2 separate regions of the Homo sapiens genome follow, and region 1 is linked to region 2. The links are contacts of gene promoters, found by promoter capture Hi-C in blood cells and fetal thymus (Javierre and others, 2016). All regions are on one chromosome and are shown on one strand. The core of a region is centred on a gene start or on the middle of the fragment in contact, and the rest is flanking DNA. Distances in the headings are between cores, read along the strand shown. Region 1 holds the start of GIT2 (GIT ArfGAP 2). Region 2 holds the start of GCN1 (GCN1 activator of EIF2AK4).

Region 1 (5,335 bases), core at 353-2,852, about 10 Mb before region 2:
TGTGAATCAAATACATCACGGTAAGTTCAACTGAAAATAGGCAAGAAAATAAGGAAGTGGAACAAATAACATTTTTAGAGAAAATGATGGAGTTTGTATAACTCACACTAACTTGGTTTAGAAAACACTTCTTTTTAAACTCCTCCATACCCCCTCCCTATCTTCAAAGGAAACTGGTAACACCTGCACTGTACGGGCCATAAAACAACCACATGAGGTTTGAGTTATCACAGTTCTATTTACAATTGGTCTCCACTTCCAAATGACAAGCTTAAGATCAGAACAGTTGCAAAGCCAGTGGTGTTCAATGATTTAATTAAGATTGTTTATCGGACACTATTGTGCCAAGAAAGCCATGTTACCTTCGAATTAACTCAAAGCCAATACATCCAAGCACCTAAAACAGCATGTAATAATCTATCCAGAGACCTGACAATTCAGTTGCAATTGCTAAGACACACTTGATCTCTAAATGTGAATATTATGTATGAACAGTTATGCATCATTATGAAGGAATGGCTTTAGCGTTTCAATGCCCCTATATTGCTGGTGATTTTGCGTTTGTTTCCGTTGTAATCAACGTATGATTTAGATAGTCAAATATAGCTTTAAGGGACTACAAGAGTTCTACTGTAGACAGCATAATGCAAAAAAGAAAAGCCTTAGATGATATGATTCTACGAGTATTCATTGAATCTTCCTCACCACTAAGCGTGATACTCCCGATTATCCTCATTGAAAAAAATGAGGAAATCAAGCAAGTGACCAAGTGAAGTCACCAGCCCAAGGTCAGCCAGAAGCAAAATCTAGTTTGAACCCAGGCCGTTCAGATCCTCAAACTTGAGACAAGCACTGCCTCCTAAGTGCTGGTTGTGTTTGGAAGACCCCGATCTCCTGGCAATTCTCCCGGGCAGAGTAGCTGTCGGATGTCAGCAGCGGGGAAGTCATCTACGGGGACCCTCTGGCGAGTCTCAGGGAGTGTCATCCTCCCCGGGCAGGACACCCAGGCGGAGAAAGGGTCTAGTGGGAGGTGACACCTGCAGCCTCTGGAGGCTGCAGCCGGGAGGACGCTCACATTTTACTTCTGTAATTGGCTTTCCTGTGGATTGCCCAAGCCCCTTCCTGTTGGGGGAGCAGCCCTGGCCCCCGTCACCTCCCCAGTTGGCCTAGGACGGAGGGAACGGGAGGGAACGAGAGGGAAGGGAGGGCCGCGAGGGACGGGGAGGGCGGCGGCCCCCTGCCCGCCCGGCTCTGACAGGCCCGGGACGGTTCCCACCCCAAGGCCGCCCAGGGACCTCTTCGTTGCGACCCTAGCCGCGGGATGCAGCCTGACCTGAGGGGGCGGCCCCGGGGTAGGGGTCCGGGCCAGGAAAGCAGAGGGGAGCGGGCCCGGCCGGTGCGACTCACCCGGCCCGCTGCAGTCAGCGCACACCTCGCTGCTCCGGAGCCGTTTCGACATGGCTCCCACCTCCCACCTGCGGGGAACTAGAGGCCGGGGGACAGCAAAGGCGGCGGTGGCGGCGGCGCTTCCGCTCTAACGGGTCCCAGCTGCGGCGGCGCTGACGGCGGCGCCTCTCCCCTCAGCGCCTTGCAGCCTTGGCACAGCACGCACGCGCGGGGAGGTGCCCTTCGGCGAGTGTCAGGTCATGTGACCGGAAAGGGCACTCTGCCTTGTCGCCATCTTGAGTGAGGGCAGGAGACTGCCCGAGTATCATCTGTCCTACCTTTAAATATTGAATTTGGGTCTTCTTCTCTGGCAGAGATTCCCCTCGTCCCAACTGATTAATACCAGGGGAAGTAGCAATATCTTGTGATGAGAACCCTGCAGCCACAACCTTCCTGAGGCAATCAATGGTCAAGTTCATTCATTCATTCCTTGATTCAACAAATGTTTATCAAGCACTTACCATGCTTTATATACTGTCCCAGCCACTGGAGAAACAGCAGTGAGCAAAGACTGAATTTCTAGTCCTTATGAAGCTTGCATTTTACTGGGGTAAAGTAAAATAAGAATATATTATATGATTCCAGGCTGGGCGTGGTGGCTCACTCTTGTAATCTCAACTCTTTGGAAGGCTGAGGCAGGAGGATCACTTGAGGCAGGAGTTCGAGACCAGCCTGGGCAACATGGTGAAACCCCATCTCTACTAAAAATACAAAAATTGGCCGGGCGCGGTGGCTCACGCCTGTAATCCCAGCACTTTGGGAGGCCGAGGCGGGTGGATCACGAGGTCAGGAGTTCAAGACCAGCCTGGCCAACATGGTGAAACCCCGTCTCTACTAAAAATACAAAAATTAGCCGGGCACAGTGGCAGGAGCCTGTAATCTCAGTTACTTGGGAGGCTGAGGCAGGAGCTTGAACCCAGGGGGTGGAGGTTGCAGTGAGCTGAGATCACGCCATTGCACTCCAGCATGGGCGACAGAGTGAGACTCCGTCTCAAAAAAAAAAAAAAAAAAAAAAAAATTAGCCGGGCGTGGTGGCGCATGCCTGTAATCCTAGATACTCAGGAGGCTGAGGCATGAGAATCGCTTGAGCCTGGGAGGTGGACGTTGCAGTGAGCAGAGATCGCGTCACTGCACTCCAGCCTGGGGGACAGAGCGAGACTGTCTCAAAAACAACTTCAACAACAACAACAAAAATAACAAAAAAGAATATATTAGATGATTCCTTAGGCTTCAGTTTTAATCTCATGTTCAAAATTAAGATAATGCATTGTTTACTTCTAGTCCACGATTTGTTTTTGTATGGCTTGCTACTTAAGAATGATTTTTACATTTTTAAAGGGTTGCGAGATGAAAATGAAGAAGAGAGAGAGGGAAATAAAGAAAAAGAGGAAGAAGAATATGCGACAAAACTTGTATGTGACCAGCAAAGTTAAACATTCATTTTGGCTAAGGACAGATGGAATAAATTATGGGAAAAATGTGATACACCTGCTGGATAGTAACCCCTCAGTAAATAGTAGCTCCCATAATTATGGATATTGCTATTATTTTCTAATTACTGTTTTTCTTCATATGCGTGGAATTTGAGAATAACAATAGCTAACATGGGATAATTTACAAAATGGTGTGAGATAAACACAATGAAATGAGGTAAATCAGTGTGAAGGAGAAAGGAGATGTGACCCTAATACCAATGACTACTTATTGTCTGTCTTACATATAAACACAGCTATGATCTCCATTCAGCAAATATTGAATGCCTGTTGTTAGCCAGGTACTATTTTGGTTTTAGATACTCTGGTAAGCAAAACGATGTGGTTCCTGTCATTATGGGGTTTTCTGATTAATGAGATAGGGAGATTTTCAATAAACACGGCATGATGAAGAAGAAGGAGAACGTTAAGTTGCAAAAGGCATCTGAAAGAATGAGAAGTGCTGGAAAAGGCCTCAGAAGCACTGGTCTTGAGTCCATCTCTACAGTGTGATAAATGTGTGATGGAGAAATAATCACAGAATTCCCACGCATTCCATGGTTAGAGTCTCCGGGTGCCATCCTGGTGCTCCTGCATCCTGTTTTGGTTTAACAACTCACAAATCTTCTGGGCTCCACATCTGTGGAGAATGGATTAGGTTGGGATTCTTGAACAGCTGTTGTTGCAGGCATCTGAAGAGCTGGATGTGCATACACTCAGAGGGCAGAGGGAATGTTTTCACAATGCATTAAATAGCTTCATCCAGCTATGTGGTCTAGTTGTAGACAGCTGAGCTGAAGCAGCAGCAGAAAGTTCAAGCCCATGAGTAGCTAGCTGTAAGTTGATTTGGTTCTTCATTGAGTCAAGGAGGCATAGTGCCTGAAACTCAAAGAATAAACTTCATATTCGCAGACTGTGGTCAAATATGTATATTATTTATCAGTCCTTTCAGCCATAACCTCAAATCCAAAAAGCTAGCTTAAAAATGACATTCATACATGGACTAAATCACCACCATAGTTAGCTATTGAATCATAACCCGGTTCGGAGTTCAAATAGAAGCGGTTCTCAACTGAGGACGATTTTTCTCCCCGAGACGACATTTGGCAATATCTGGAGAGACATGTTTTGGGGAGTGCTACTGGCATTGAGTGGGGAGAAAGACCAGGGCAACTGCTCAGCATCCTACAAGGACCGGACAACCCCCACACAAAAACTGCCCAGTTCAATATGTGCCGAGGTTGAGAAATCATGAAGTAGAAATATCCCCTTTTATGCAAATACTGTATTTGAAGCCACTTCGCCAGGGTTTAGCGTTCCTCCTTCAAAAATTGTCCGGTGTTGCCCACTTCCAAAATGGCTTTTGACCCGTCGTGGAAGCATCTGTCCTGCTCCAAAAAGGCTGCAAGGGTGTCGGCAGCTGGAATGGTTTGGTCCGGGGCTCAGTTGTCACCCCCTGACTTCAGAGCCAATGGAAGAGGCCCAGTTGTGGACCGAACCACATGGGGCTACTGGAGCAGGGGGAAAGAAGCTGGGGACAGGTAGACGGAACTTTCCGCGTGGAGATCTTTGGCCAAGAGAATGAGCCTCAGCTCTGTTCTGTGGGCTGCACTGAGTTTCTCGGTGTGAGCTGGAGGTGGGTGCAATGGCGCGGACCCCGGACCCGGTGCCCAAGGTCGCCTATCCCCGCCGCGGCATGCGGTGGTTCGCTCTCCGCACTTCCCTGTTTGGGGCAGTTAGGTCCGCAGAAGTCTGTCCGCGAGCTGTCAGCGCGGGCGGGAACGCCGCGGGGCGCGGGGTGGGCGCGGCCGACCTGGTCCCTGAGCCGGCCGGCGACCCCGGACCTCCCGCGCGCCCCGCACCCGACCGGCTCAGCCGGCCGGCAGCGTAACACGCCCTACGCTCGCTTGCTCGCCGGCCTCAGGGCAGGCAGGCGGGCGCGGGAGACCCCGCCGGGGCCGAGACTTGGGGCGGGCGACGAGGACCAGGTTACGGCCTCCTCGCCATGTCCTCGGCCTGCGACGCGGGCGACCACTACCCCCTGCACCTCCTAGTCTGGAAAAACGACTACCGGCAGCTCGAGAAGGAGCTGCAGGGCCAGGTGAGGGGCGGGGCGGGGGTCCGTCTCCCGGTGGGGACTTCGGGGAATCGGGGGTCGTTTCGCCTCCCTGAGCCCATTTCCAGCCCTCTGTCCCCGGGATCCCCAGACCCCTTCCACTTTGCAGGTGTGGGACAGTCCTAATAATAGGACACGTATCGAGTGCTTACCGTGCGACGGGCTTTTTAAATATCTTCTCTCTTCACCTTTCCAATAACGCTGGTGGGTAGGTACTGTTACTTTTCCACTGGACAGAGAAGGAAACAGGTCCTCAGACGCTACGTGCCTTGTGCGAGGCCGCCCCGCTGATAAATGCCAA
Region 2 (5,279 bases), core at 2,644-5,143:
CAACTATGTTCCCTTTACATTATCTCACTTTAACCTCCCCATAAAGGGAATGTCAGCATCCTGGCAACTCACTGGCAGAGGATAAGCACACTGGCTAAAGGGGGAAAGGTTAGGAGATTGGATCCCAGCTCTGCCTTTTACTAGCTGTAGAAACTTAGTCAAATAATGTCACTCCCCCAATCTTCAGTTTTCTCATCTATAAGATGCGGACAATAGCAGCTACCTCATATGACTGTTATGGAGCTTAAATGAGATTGCGTATAAGGTGCATCTACTCTCATCCCAAGCAAAAAGTTGGCTACTACTACCAAAAAGCCTGCAAGGGAGGCATCAGTATCCCCATTTTATAGGCGATGAAGAAACCATCTCCAAGAGAGGAAGTCACTGCTCAGAGTGGGGTCGAGAGCCACAGCACCTGCGTTTTTGAAACTAACTTTGAAACCAAACAGGTCTATAAACTGATGCTAACAAATCTTTAGCTTTCAACAGCCATCGAGTTACCACAGCTGCAGTCCCCTGCATAGGGACATAAGCATAAGACCCAGTGATGGGGGGCAGTTTGCAAACATCCCTGAAAATCTGCTCTTGAGCAATATTCTACAAGCTACCAAGTGGACAGGTTGTGGATTCATAAGCCGTAGAGCAGGGCATGATAAGGCTCATGTAACTTAACACAGTGGGGTTATCATGTTTTTCTTTTGAGGGTATTTCAAAGGCAGGCCTTATCAGTAGCGTAAGAGTCAAGCGTACACACAGAAATAAAATAATGCTGAGTTTTTCGTGCTTAAATCCCTGCCATAATTCTATTGGCAATGAATAAAAGAAACTGATGTCCAAAACTGTCTTCTACATAAATAATGTAGTTTTAACTTTAAAATGTCTTTTGTTTTTATAGTCATAGATGCACACAGAGTCAAAACCAAAGAGTTCTGAGAAGTCTGCCATAAAAACCAGTCCCTTGCCCTCACTCTCCATGGGCAACCCTTAGGTTGATCTGGTGGATATTTGGGTAGTTACCTCCATATATCTAAGTATCTCTAAATATGGAGGTAACTTGCATGTGCTTCTTGATTTTTCAGTTTTGCTACCTTTCCACCACAGCTCCCTTTCCTGCTGTGACCCCATCGCACACCCTCCCCATTTCCCCAGTGGAAGTCCCCAGTTTCACATACAGGCTAGGTCAGTAGTCAGTGATTACATTATATGTAAATGGCATTCAACATCCATTTAATAAACTCTGATTCTTCCCAGCTTTTTTATGCCCCTGGTGTTAATAATTACCCTTTCCCACCTCACTTCAGTTTGACTTGTTTTATCTGTTCTTATAAATAATTAAAACCCAAACTTTTTGCCATTTGTCTAAATCTCAGTACATTTAGGGAGATCAGGTATTCCATCAAATTCCACCTTCCTAAGGAAATCTCTCCCAGAGTTTTCTGACCTGCCCCAATTAGGCATGTGATCCTCTACAGCTGGGGCACAGTTTATCACCCTGAACATGTACTTTCTTGTGTTTGGGTGAAGCACAGCCTCCATTTTGTAAACTCCTTGCAAGTATGAAAATGTTCTGGCCAAATACAGAATTCTAGGTTGAAATCATTTTCCTTTAGAATACTGAAGACAAGGCTGGGTGCAGTGGCTCACGCCTGTAATCCCAGCACTTTGGGAGGCCAAGGCAGGCAGATCACAAGGTCAGGAGATCGAGACCATCCTGGCCAACATGGTGAAACCGCGTCTCTACTAAAAATACAAAAAAAAAAATTAGCTGGGCGTGGTGCCGGGTGCCTGTAATCCCAGCTACTTGGGAGGCTGAGGCAGAAGAATCGCTTGAACCCGGGAGGCAGAGGTTGTAGTGAGCCAAGATTGTGCCACTGCACTCTAGCCTGGGCGACAGAGCGAGACTCCGTCTCGAAAAAAAAAAAAAAAGAATACTGAAGACAAGGCCGGGCATGGTGGTTCACGCCTGTAATCCCAGCACTTTGGGAGACAGAGGCGGACAGATTGCTTGAGGTCAGAAGTTCGAGACCAGCCTACCCAACATGGTGAAACCCTGTCTCTACAAAAACTAGCCGGGCATGGTGGCGCATGCCTGTAATCCCAGCTACTCGGGAAGCTGAGGCAGGAGAATTGCTTGAACCTGGGAGGCAGAGGTTGCAGTGAGTTCAGATCGTGCCATTGCACTCCAGCCTGGGCAACAAGAGAGAAACTCCGTCTCAAAAAATAAAATAAAATAATAAAAAATAATTTCAGGCCAGGTGCGGTGGCTCACGCCTGTAATCCCAGCACTTTGGGAGGCCAAGGCAGAAGGATCACCTGAGGTCAGGAATTCGAGACCAGCCTGGCCAACATGGAGAAACCCCATCTCTACTAAAAATACAAAAATTATAAAATACAGAAATATTCTCCTGCACCACCCAATACGGTAGCCACTGGCTACATGTGGCTAACTGTGCACTGAAATGTGGCTGGTACAAGTGAAGAACTAAATTTTTTTTTTTTTTGAGACAGAGTCCCACTCTTGTTGCTCAGGCTGGAGCGCAGTGGTGCGATCTCAGCTCACTGCAACCTCTGCCTCCCAGGTTCAAGCGATTCTCATGCCTCAGCCTCCTGAGTAGCTGGAATTACAGACATGCCACCATACCCGGTTAATTTTTTGCATTTTTAGTAGAGACGGGGTTTTGCCACGTTGGTCAGACTAGTCTCAAACTCCTGACCTCAACTGATCCACCCGCCTTGGCCTCCCAAAGTGCTGGGATTACAGGGTGAGCCACCACGCCCAGCCAAACAATGAATTTTTTTATTTAATTTAATTTTAACAAACTTAAGCCATGTGGCTGCCATACTGGACATTGCAGCTCTAGAGATTTTTCCCTCAAGTGAGTATCAATGTTAAACATTCAGCATGTATTCCCCTAACCCTCTCATACTAAGCTTTTCTTTCTAGTATTCAGTACAACATAACTTGAACATCAGCCACCTGCATAGGAGTCTCAGTAAATGTCTTTTTGAATGCTTAAGTGGTCATTTTCTGGGCCTACACATAAAAATCAATCCCATCACCCTGGAGACACCAAATCAGCCCAGCTGTCCTTAGACACCTGTTCTTCCCCTGCCTCATGACAATGTCTTTTCACCTTAAAACATAACAACTGGGTGGAGGAAAAGGTTTTCCCAGGTCCTTCCTGAACTACAAGGTACCCATAGGTAACACTCTTCCTGGACAGGACAGTTCTTTTCACTAACCCTGGATCTGATAACAACCAACATATATCAAGCCGTATTTTATCTCACTGAACCTTCACAACAACCTTTTAAGATAAGTATTGTTTTAACTTCATTTTATAGATGAAAAGGCAGACTTGGCGGGGTTAAGTCACTTGTTTGGCATGTCACAGAAATCGACGAGCAGGAACTCAAGCCCAGATCTGTATGAATCCAAAGACTACACTCAAAGTCCCTGCTCATAGTAGGTGCTCAAAGAATATTTGCTGAATACAAAGTTTAAGGAAGACTTGGCGTTGGCCCGGGGCTCACAGCCGGAGGGCTTTGGAGAAAAGAAGTAGAGGCTCGGTAAAGTGAACTTCTGCAACTCTGGGGTCGGGCAAAGGCCCCGCCGAGCTCCAGCTGCTGAAGTCGAGGCGGGAGCCCCGGACTCCTCGAGCCCGCGGTCTGCCTGCGCCGCCCGGGCCGGGCCAAGCCCGCAGCCCTGAGAGTCCAGCCTGAGACGGCCCCGAGACTACGACCTCCACAGCCACCACCTCCAACGCCCCTAAGCCGAGGAGCGAGAGGGGCCCCGCCCGACGGCCACCGTCCGCACCCAGTCCCTGGCCGCGTTGGCCCCGCAGCCGCCCGCCTCACCTGCGTGTCCGCCGCCATCCTGCCGGGGCTGACTCCGGAACCGCTTCCGGAACGCTTCCGGGTCACAGCGTGGCCCACGCGGCAGGGCGAGGCCGGGAGCCAGCGGGGGCAGGGCCCCGGGCTTGGTGCCCCCGGGCAGGACGGCGGCCGCTGCAGCCCGGGCAGCCGGATCACGGGCTTAAAGTTGGCCCGCGCCCGAGCCACAAGGCCTCCTCCCCAGGGCCCGCTCTTCAGCCCCGGGCGCCTCGTGGGAGACTAGCGCTTGTAACGTGGTGAGCCCGCGGTGTAACGCTATGGGCCCGCCTTGCAGCCCCTGACCCACTTCCAGCCCGCAGGGCCAGCCCTACGTGGGCCTTTCCTGAGTGATGACTAAGTTCTTTAGAAAAACAAGTGTTGCTTCCTAGATAGCAGGAACTAAAAACTAGGTAAAAGAGTCGGTGAACTAGTCTTTTGTCCTCAGTTTGTAGTTCAGTTGGCGGATGACTTGTACAGGGTTAGCAAACGTGGCTGGATACGGAGGTCAGGGAAGGTTCAGAACTGAACGAGGCCCCTGCCCTGGGGAAATGCTGGACGCCCCAGGCTGGGAGTTTTGAAGGCCACAGGGCAAGAGGCTACGTGCAGACGTGGCTGCAATTTAGGGAACAGGGTCTCCACAGCTTAGTTGTCAGCCCTGTTAGCAGTGGCTTTCAAACCTTTGACACAGACCTAGTTAGAATGAATATATCATGTTCCAGCAGACAGATCTCTAAGTGAAATACAGGAATCACAACAAAAACACCTATTCTCAGCAGATGCTGCTTTCTCTTTAAATACTGGGGCCAGGCATGGTGGCTCACGCCTGTAATCCCAGCACTTTGGGAGGCTGAGGTGGGTAGATCAACCTGATGTTAGGATTTCCAGACCAGCCTGGTCAACATGACAAAACCTTGTCTCTACTAAAAATACCAAAAAAAAAAAAAAAAAAAAAAAAGGCCGGGTGCGGTGGCTCACCCTTGTATAATTCCAGCGCTTCGGGAGGACAGGGCGGGCAGATCACAAGGTCAGGAGTTCCAGACCAGCCTGGCCAACATAGTGAAACCCCGTCTCTACTAAAAGTACAAAAATTAGCCGAGTGGTGGCACATGCCTGTAGTCCCAGCTACTGGGGAGGCTGAGGTGGGAGAACCGCTTGAACCCGAGAGGCAGAGGTTGCAGTGAGCTGAGACCATACCATTGCACTCCAGTCTGGGTGACAGGACGAGACTGTCTCAACAACAAAAAAATTAGCCCGGTGTGGTGGCAGCCTCCGGTAATTGCAGCTACTTGGGAGGCTGAGGCAGGAGAATCACTTGAACCCAGGAGGCGGAGGTTGCAGTGAGCCAAGTCCAAGCCACTGCACCCCAGTCTCAAATATATTTGAGACTATCTCGAAAATATAAATTG

The links. Contacts are between HindIII fragments. The CHiCAGO score rates a contact against its expected background, and 5 or more counts as called.
Region 1: the fragment with the promoter of GIT2 here is called in contact with the fragment with the promoter of GCN1 in region 2 in 1 of 17 cell types (total CD4 T cells); the score reaches 6.3 in total CD4 T cells.

Annotation. Positions count from the first base shown.
Region 1 is chr12:109,994,766-110,000,100 of GRCh38, forward strand. GIT2 (GIT ArfGAP 2) reads right to left here and starts at 1,603. Exons shown (of 20, transcript NM_057169.5): 1 at 1,408-1,603. The coding sequence starts at 1,459. ANKRD13A (ankyrin repeat domain 13A) reads left to right here and starts at 4,665. Exons shown (of 15, transcript NM_033121.2): 1 at 4,665-5,019. The coding sequence starts at 4,924. RefSeq lists enhancers at 874-923, 1,614-1,773, 4,389-4,578 and silencers at 1,254-1,343, 4,659-4,778, 4,789-4,878. The HindIII fragment of the contact is 1,710 bases long and covers 269-1,978 here.
Region 2 is chr12:120,190,822-120,196,100 of GRCh38, forward strand. It overlaps GCN1 (GCN1 activator of EIF2AK4), which reads right to left and starts at 3,894. Exons shown (of 58, transcript NM_006836.2): 1 at 3,859-3,894. The coding sequence starts at 3,876. RefSeq lists a silencer at 3,602-4,191. The HindIII fragment of the contact is 5,843 bases long and covers 2,930-5,279 here.